Linked DNA regions of Homo sapiens: region 2 is linked to region 1. The links are contacts of gene promoters, found by promoter capture Hi-C in blood cells and fetal thymus (Javierre and others, 2016). All regions are on one chromosome and are shown on one strand. The core of a region is centred on a gene start or on the middle of the fragment in contact, and the rest is flanking DNA. Distances in the headings are between cores, read along the strand shown. Region 1 holds the start of EPHX4 (epoxide hydrolase 4). Region 2 overlaps EVI5 (ecotropic viral integration site 5).

Region 1 (4,690 bases), core at 584-3,083:
GAAAATTAAAAAAACATGGGAATGAGTCAGGAATTCAAGCAAATACTAAGCAGGCTGAATTGAGGAAAGTAGAGGGAACAGCAGGAATAAAAATCTCTGAAAGCAAGCAAGCTAGGAAACAAAAAGAACCAAAAGCTAAACACAGACATTGGGTTTTTATAGCAGGCAACTCAAGCAACTGAGTTTTCAGATGTGAAAGAATCATTTTGCAGATTCAGAAGATGAGGCCCAAAGATGGTAACATGAGTCATAAAATGGTTGAGAGCAGGGCTGTGACCAGAATCTCCATCTTGTCCTAACTCCCAGGACAATGCTCTTTCCACTCGGTTCTCTGTCTCTGGGGAAGCTCTTTAGGCGGCCAGAGCGAGGGGAAAAGTGTTTTATGGAATTCCAGATGGTTCTTATACTACTTTTACCCCTCAGGTTGAACAGAGATAACAAATCTGACTTTACCCTCAGCTGCACGATGGCTTCCTAGAGGTTCAATAACTTTTTTTATTGGTGGTGAGTCTTGGAGGATTAAATGTTATGGGCACTGCAATGGATTTAATTAACAGATACTTTATTGCACTGACTATGCATCAGGCATTGTTCTAAGTTTTTCGTGTTTGTTTTTATAAATATTAACCTATTTAATTCTCATGTCGACCCCAGGCAAGAAAGAAGTTCTCTTGCCCTTCTGAACTTCAGCTGCGGGGCAATTTAGCTCCTAACAGGAAATAAGGACTTGGTGACATAAACATCCCCTCTTATGAGGCTGGGTTTGAAAGGCCTGTGAGTCAGACTGCAGGGTGTATCACGGGAACTATTTCCCTTCACCACCTGGAGCCTCAGGAAACAGAATATTTGTGGGCTGTGAGGAAGCTTGAACAATTAGCGTCTGCAGGCATGGCTGGATTTACCTTTTATTCCATTCCTTTCTTTGGTCCCTGACTTCATAAGTATGCATTCCTCCCCACAACACACACAATTTACTTATTGTTTCATGCAACCTAAGTCGTCTGTGATCATAATAAACTCATGACTCCCAAAGACTGACTGTTTACTCTTATTATCTCTAAAATTGGGCAAGAACAGCCTCCTGAGACATTAGGATGCCACGAGGAACAATTCTCTACAGCTGATCTGAGCTCTAAAGGGCAAAAGGGTGACAGGAGACAGCTTCCCCTTGCAGTAGGAAAAAGAGCAGGTTTATTCTGGGTTGTTGTGGCGCCGGGGGGCAGTAATATAAGAGGCCCCTGATTAGAGAAGTTCCACATTCAGAAACCAATCAAGGTGCCTGCAAAGACCGAGTGCTGTTTATCTGTATCTCTCTCTCTCTCTCTCTCTCTCACACACACACACACACACACACACACACGACACACAGGGACCCAACCCCTCCTCCCCTCCTGCCAGGACACTAGGGGACGCTGAGCCAGCGTCTCGGAAGGAGAAGCCCGGAGCCCCCCACCCTCGCGGCGGTCACGCTCCCTCCCGCTCCCGCCAGGCCCGCGCGGCCCTTCACCTTGATCCGCACGTAGCAGTGGGTGCCCAAGGAGGGGTCGCTCAGGCACGCGGGAGGGTGCTCCCGGGCGGGCCGCCGGAAGGTCTGCGCCGGCCCCTTGCCGAGGCTCCACAAAAGTTTGAGCAGGTGGATGGAGGCGCAGAGCCCGCAGTAGCAGTAGACCAGGGACCAGAAGAGCAGGGACCGGAGCGTGAGCATCAGGCGGGGCAGGCAATCCCGCAGCCTCGCCATTGGGAGGCGGCGGCGGGGCCCACTGCCCTTCCTCGGGAGCGGGTGAGCGAGCGCCGCAGCGCGCCAGGCCAGCCCGCCGTCGCCTCTCGACGCGCGCCTCCCCCGGCCCGGGGCGGCCGGCGTTCCGTGTCACCGCGGCGGCTCCGCACACGCGCCGCGCCCAGCCCGGAGCGCGCAGGGGAGAGCCGGGCCTGCGGGGTGCGGCGGGCCAGGCCGGGGTGCAGAGCTTGGCTGTCTTCCGCGGAGAGCGAGATCCCGTTTCAAAATCGCAAAACTGTGGGGGAGGATGAAGGCGAGACTTTCCCAAACCATCCTGGGCACCAAAGAAGGTAGCGCCACTCAGTCTTCTTTGTTGTTCTCAATGTATCAAGCAAAACTATTTCTAAGCCCACATATTCGTGTGTCATAGTTCAGGGACACAGGTCAGCGACAAACTTCCATGCTATTACACCCAAAGAGATTCTTTAGAGTGCAAAATCACTCTGCACTCTGAAAGATACCAGCCTTCCTCTTCTCAAAATCTTTCGTGGAATCATAATTTCTGTAGAAATCCGCCTATGCCTTGCCTGGTTCAGCCACAGCAAACTTACAGAGAGCTGCAACCCCAGGGATACAACGAATGCTTCAACAACGTGACGCGGCAGAAGCCTGGCCAGAAGGCCACACACCTGAGAGTTCGTCGAAGGGCTGGAAGCCGTGAGAGTGACAGTCCTCGGTAGGTATCTCAGCCTCAGCACCGACATGGCCACTCTTGTCCTGACCTCTTCTATCGTCCAGTTCACTGTTAGAATTTCATTAAGCCTTTTCCCAATCACCGGGTCAGGTATTAAGTGTTCATTTTTTATGAGAAACTGTCAAACTGGTTTCCAAAGTGGCTGTACAATTTTGAATTTACTTCAGCATGTGTGAGTTATACAATTGACCTTTGAACAATGCGGGGGGTTAGGGTTGCTGAACCCTTTCACATCTGAAAATCCATGTATAACTTTTGAGTTCCCCCAAACTTAAGTACTAATAGCCTACTACTGACCAAAACAATTAACATATGTTTATGTATTACATACTGTATCTTTATAATTAAGAAAAATGTTAAAATCATAAGGAAGAGAAAATACATTTACTATTCATTAAGTGGAAGTGGATTATCTTAAGAGTGTTCATCCTTGTCATCATCAGGTTAGGTAAGCTGAGGAGGAGAAAGAAGAAGGGAGGTTGATCTTCCTGTCTTGGGGTGAGGGGGAGGGAAGAGGTGGAAGAAAATCCATGTGTAAGTGGACCTACACAGTTCAAACACATGTTGTTTGAGGGTTAACTGTATTTTGCTCTTTTTTTCTAGGGTCTTGAGTTAGGAACTTATTGAGACCTTTGCAATTTCTAATGCAATCATTTAGCACCTATACATTTCTCTCAGTACTCTTTTTATTTTATTTTTTGAGACGGAGTCTCACTCTGTCGCCTAGACTGGAGTGCAATGGCGCGATCTCCATCTCAGCTCACTGCAAGCTCCGCCTCCCGGGTTCACGCCATTTTCCTGCCTCAGCCTCCTGAGTAGCTGGGACTACAGGCGCCCGCCACCATGCCCGGCTAAGTTTTTTGTATTTTTGGTAGAGACGGGGTTTCACCGTGTTAGCCAGGTTAGCTCGTGAACCGCCCGCCTCAGCCTCCCTAAGTGCTGGGATTACAAGTGTGAGCCACCGCGCCTGGCATCTCTCAGTACTCTTTAATCGTATTACATATGTGTTGATATGTTGTATTTTGCCATTTGTTATGTATTTTTTAAAATGTCCTGTTTTAGGTTGGGTGCTGTGGCTTACGCCTATAATCCCAGCACTTTGGGAGGCTGAGGCAGGAGGATCGCTTGAGCTCAGCAATTCAAGACCAGCGTGGGCAACATGGCAAAACCCTGTCTCTACAAAAAATAGAGAAATTAGCCAGGTGTGGTGGTGCACGCCTGTAGTCCCAGCTACTTGGGAGGCTGAAGTGGCAGGATCGCCTTAGCCCTGGAAGGTTGAGGCTGCAGTGAGCCAAAATCATGCCACTGCACTCTAGCCTGGGTTAAAGAGTGAGATTATGTTTCAAAAAATGAAAAACAAAACAAAACAAAACAAAAAACAGGGCCGGGGGTGGTGGCTCACATCTGTAATCCCAGCACTTTGGGAGGCTGAGCTGGTCAGATCACCTGAGGTCAGGAGTTTTGGACCAGCCTGGCCAACATGTTGAAACCCCATCTCTACTAAAAATACAAAAAAATTAGCCAGGCATAGTAGTGCACGCCTGTAGTCCAAACTACTTGGGAAGCTGAGGCATGAGAATTGCTTGAACCCGGGAGGCAGAGATTGCAGGGAGCTGAGATTGCACCACTGCACTTCAGCCTGGGTGACAAAGGGAGACTCCGTCTCAAAAAATAAATAAATAAAAAAAAACAAAGATTCCTGTCTTCCTCCTTGCCCCATTGTGTTTTTAATGTGTTTAGCAATTTTTCTATTATTACTTTCAGTCCTCCAAACTCTTAACTCATAACACATTAAATTTTTAAGAGATAGAGATCTTGCTATGTTGATCAGGCTGGTCTTGAACTCCTGGCCTCAAGCAATCCTCTCACTTTAGCCTCCCAAAGTGCTGAGACTACAAGCATGAGGTACTGTGCTTGGCAGTCCATTATTGACTTGTATCTGATTCTATTATGGCCCAAGAACATACTCCACATGACCTCTATTCTTTTAAATTTGTTTTATGATCTGGGATATGGTCTATCTTGGTGAATGTTCCATGGTTGTTTAAAAAAAAAAAACGTGTGGATAAGAGTGTTCTACATTTGCCCGCTAGATCATGTTGGCTGCTTGTGTCCTACCTTTTTTTTTTTTTCTTTTTCAAGAGACAGGGACTCGCTGTTACCCAGGATGGAGTGCAGTGGCTATTCACAGGTGCAGTCATTAAGCACACTGCAGCCTC
Region 2 (4,690 bases), core at 919-3,418, 610 kb before region 1:
CCTGGTAATGGTATTGCTGGGTCAAATGGTATTTCTGGTTCTAGAACCGTGTTGGTTGAACTAATTTACATTACCATGAACACTATAAAAGCATTCCTATCTGTCCGCAGCCTCACCAGCATCTGTTGTTTCTTGGCTTTTTAATAATTGCCATTCTGATTGGCATGAGATGGTATCTCATTGTGGGTTTGATTTGCATTTCTCTAATGATCAGTGATGTTGAGCTTTTTTTTGATGTTTTTTGGCCGTGTAAATGTCATCTTTTGAGAAGTGTCTATTCATATCCTTTGCCCACTTTTTGATGGGGTTGTTTTTCTCTTGTAAATTTGTTTAGGTTCCCCATAGATTCTGAATTTTAGACCTTTGTCAGATGGGTAGATTGCAAAAATTTTCTCCTGTTCTGTAGGTTGACTGTTCACTCTGATGATAGTTTCTTTTGCTGTGCAGAAGCTCTTTAATTAGATCCCATTTGTCAGTTTTGGCTTTTGTTACAATTGCTTTTGGTGTTTTAGACATGAAGTCTTTGCCCATGCCTATGTCCTGAATGGTATTGCCTAGGTTTTCTTCTAGGGTTTTTATGGTTTGGGGTTTTACATTTAAGTCTTCAATCCATCTTGAGTAAATTTTTGTATAACATGTGAGGAAGGGATCCGGTTTCAGTTTGCTGCATATGGCTAGCCAGTTTTCCAAGCACCATTTATTGAATAGGAGATCCTTTCCCCATTGCTTTTGTCGGGTTTGTTGAAGATCAGATGGTTGTAGAAGTACGGTGTTATTTCTCAGGTCTCTGTTTTGTTCCATTGGTTTATATGTCTTTTTGGTACCAGTACCATGCTGTTGGGTTACTGTAGCCTTGTAGTATAGTTTGAAGTCAGGTAGCGTGATGCCTCCAGCTTTGTTCTTTTTGCTTAGGATTGTCTTGGCTATACAGGCTCTTCTTTGGTTCCATATGAAATTTAAAGTAGTTTTTTTCTAATTCTGTGAAGAATGTCAATGGTAGTTTGATGGGAATAGCATTGAATCTATAATTACTTTGGGCAGCATGCACAATTTTTTATTTAGAGTTGTGATAAGTGTTACAAAAGAGATGAGAACAGGGTTCCATGAAATGTTTGGGTTCCTGAAAAGAGCATATAAATGTCATATCTTGAACTTAGTTAAAAGCTTAATGTATACTTAAATTCAAGCAATATTGGATACATTTGCATGGACAACCCTTTTTCTAATTTCAATTTTTTTTCACTTAATAATATGAGAAACTTCCCCCAATACAAATATTTACTTTTTACTGTATTACTCCTATTTCCTTCAAATATTGAAATTTTTTTTAATAATATGAGAAACTTCCCCCAATACAAATATTTACTTTTTACTGTATTACTCCTATTTCCTTCAAATATTGAAGATTTTTTTTTAAGCTCAAGACACAAGCAAAAAGGATTACTGAGGACTTTCTAACTTACCTTTACCTTTGTAATTTTTGCAACACCAGAAAAGCACATAGGATTGAAAAGCAGACTCTGCTTACTAAAAAGAATTTCTGTCAGTTTCATTGGAATGGGATTGCTGGTATCACAGAAACATTATGAGATTCATTTACATAAATTAACTTGATGTAAGTATAGAGAAGTCATCTGTCATTTCTATGCTTTTAAATAAACGGCTCCCCTTGCTGAGACTGCCAGCCATCATAATTGTGGCAGTTGTCATTTGGTAAAACAAATTGTGTGTCTGTCCAAGTTACTCACTTGAATATGAAATGCACTCTTCTAGGAATTTCTTAATACAAGAACATTATGTGAGATCTATATGCTTAGATTTTTTTTAGAGGTTTGGATTTTTTTAATATTATATAATTAATTTTTAGAACAGTATATATTAAAACAATATATTAAACTCTTCAACACCTATATGGCTTAAAGGTGAGGAACATGGGCTCTGTAATACAAACTGTCAATTAATAGCACTATCAACTGCTGTTTGACCTTGGTGTACCCTATTAGTTTCCTTATTAGTAAGACAGTAATTGTGGTGAAGGTTAAAGGAGAATATAAAGTGCTTAACATGTGTCTGGCACATAGTAAGTGGTGAGTAGATGTTAGCTGCTGTCATAATTGTCATTTCTGTCAAACATTAAAACATGTTTATAAAACTGTTTTCCCCCTGTGGAAAATAGAATAAATTGAAACTACAGTGGTTAGCTTCAGGTAATTTATAGTTCACAGCAGCATCTTTTCCTTAGACACTGTGTAATTTGCAGTATGTTAATTGGCCACCATCATGATGACCTGGGAATTATATTCTGTAAACTCTGTCAGTGGCAAAAAAATTTACATAATACGTTTAGAGTTATTTTAATCCAGAAGACTAAAATAATATGTTTTAGAGTATAAAAAGCATAAGATATATATTATCCAGAATGACTTGTTATCAGAGCATTTCAGCTCTCTGTAAATTTTATTAATAAAGATTTGTGCCCAACATTACTATAGCTTTTTGTACTTGATTGGATTAGTTGGTTTATGCCAATCAAGAATTCCATTCTCATATGGGCCTTTGAGTTTGATGTTTTCTTGGGGATCTTCTAATATAAAGTCTTTGCAAACAAACCTGTGCTACAGTTGCCAGGGCTTTAAGTTGAGGGCAAAAAAATTCTTCCAGTACCCACGAAATAACTGTGATCTAATTAAATAAATTATGGCACATCTAGTTTGGATGTGGTCATTCCAAAAGAATGCCTTTTTCCTAATTGATAAAAGGTAAGTATTTGCTAAGATGATGTGTCTGTTGCAGATGCACTTCTCGTATTGAAATATTGTTTCAATAGTATCAAAATTACTAGAAGAAATAATGTATAATGCATTGAATTAAAGTCCTCATTTGCACATCTTTTTTTGGTAACTGGGGCAGGAGAGTACCATGTATTAAGCATCTGGTTATTTTTAATAGTTTTGATTTGACATCTGTTTTGTTCCTAACATATTAAAGAGTAAAAATAACTGTGCTTTATTCATGCTAGTTCAGTAGAAGATTGTTTTTTATGACTTTATTTTGAAATTTTGAGTTGCCACATTTTCTTTACTACATAAATTAAATGTGAAGTGATAGACAATTTATTTTAGAAAGTATTTTATAATGATGAATTACATATTGCTTTTGTACAGAAGCTTTTCTATGGGCACTGGCTTAAAAATGACGACTTAAGTGTTTGCATCAATATTCATGTTTTATAGAGTAGGAAAGCAAATGGGAAAGTTGCGTGCTTCCGTGGTTAATTTCTTTGTGCAGCATCTGCGTCTTCTCTACTTCCAGCAATTATTTCTATGTATATCTTTTTTTTTTTTTTTTCTTGAGACAAGAGTCTTGCTCTGTCACCTGGGCTGGAGTACAGTGGCATGATCTTGGCTTACTGCAACCTCCACCTCCCGGGCTCAAGCCATTCTCCTGCCTCACACTCCCTAGTAGCGGGGATTACAGGCGTGTGCCACCATGCCCAGCTAATTTTTGTATTTTTAGTAGAGACAGGGTTTCACCACGTTGGCCAGGCTGATCTTGAACTCCTGGCCTCAAGTGATCCACCCGCCTCGGCCTCCCAAAGTGCTGGGAAACCATGCATATCTTTTGAAGAAGATTTCTACATTTCTAAGGACAAATACAATTTTGTTATTTTGGAATTTAGATGGTTCACATTATTGTAGGTACCCTGTTTTTTTTCTATTAGATTAAAATATATTTTTCAGTAATCTTTACATGTCTTCTGTAGTATATAACAGTACTATCAAATAGCAATATAATGTGTCACATATGCAATTTAAGATTTTCTAATACCCACATTAAAAGGAGCAAAAAAAGGTAAAATTAATATTTTTATTTACCTCAGTATATTCAAAATATTATTTTAATGTAATCAATATAAAAATCATTGAGATTTTTTTATTTCATATTAATTCTTCAAAATCCAGTTTGTATTTTATACTTATAACTTGTTTTAATCTGTATTAGCCACATTTCAAGTGTTCAGTAGCCACATGTGGCTAATTGCTATCCTATTTATTGTGCAGTGTAGGTCTGTAAAGTCAGAAAAAATTCTTTGTATCTGGATGGATGGACAGATAAAAGGAGATGTTTATCTTATATGAATCAGATTTGATCAGCGTAATAACTAGTTACCAAAACCCAATAATGTGGTCATCTTTATAGATATCAAAGGTGGGCTTTTTTACTCATTGGAGAAGTTAATTGGAGGAGATACATTGGAAATATTGGGTAGATGGAACTTCTCCTATTTAGTTGCCCTTAATGTAATATAACTGTATTATGTGGTTGCATTGTTTTTATTGTATATACATGTTTATACTTTCATGAAATTTCAGTGTATGTCTGTAACCTTTAGCATAAATGCAGTTCCAACTACAACGAAGATTTTGTGCTACAGCTAGAGAAGGAATTGGTCCAAGCCCGACTGAGTGAAGCTGAGTCTCAGTGTGCATTAAAAGAGATGCAGGATAAAGTCTTGGATATAGAGAAGGTAAGAAACCTACACAAATGCAGTCATTCCCAAATTAGAGGGGATATGTGATATTTATTAAGTACTTACTGAGCAATTTAATTGACTTGGTGTTTTTATACATTAGAAGCCTTACATATTAGTTACTAAGAGGAAAAGGAAAAAAAGATTTTTAAAATTGCC

The links. Contacts are between HindIII fragments. The CHiCAGO score rates a contact against its expected background, and 5 or more counts as called.
Region 2: a fragment that was not itself captured here is called in contact with the fragment with the promoter of EPHX4 in region 1 in 5 of 17 cell types (total CD4 T cells, naive CD8 T cells, activated CD4 T cells and 2 more); the score reaches 7.5 in total CD4 T cells.

Annotation. Positions count from the first base shown.
Region 1 is chr1:92,027,128-92,031,817 of GRCh38, reverse strand. It overlaps EPHX4 (epoxide hydrolase 4), which reads right to left and starts at 1,833. Exons shown (of 7, transcript NM_173567.5): 1 at 1,508-1,833. The coding sequence starts at 1,738. LOC124904218 (a long non-coding RNA gene) reads left to right here and starts at 1,431. Exons shown (of 2, transcript XR_007066222.1): 1 at 1,431-2,453; 2 at 4,614-4,690. RefSeq lists an enhancer at 1,633-2,134. The HindIII fragment of the contact is 12,008 bases long and covers 867-4,690 here.
Region 2 is chr1:92,636,040-92,640,729 of GRCh38, reverse strand. EVI5 (ecotropic viral integration site 5) reads left to right here. Exons shown (of 20, transcript NM_001350197.2): 14 at 4,394-4,528. Among named protein-coding and RNA genes, the nearest start is that of EVI5, 150 kb to the left of the region's middle. The HindIII fragment of the contact is 2,003 bases long and covers 1,167-3,169 here.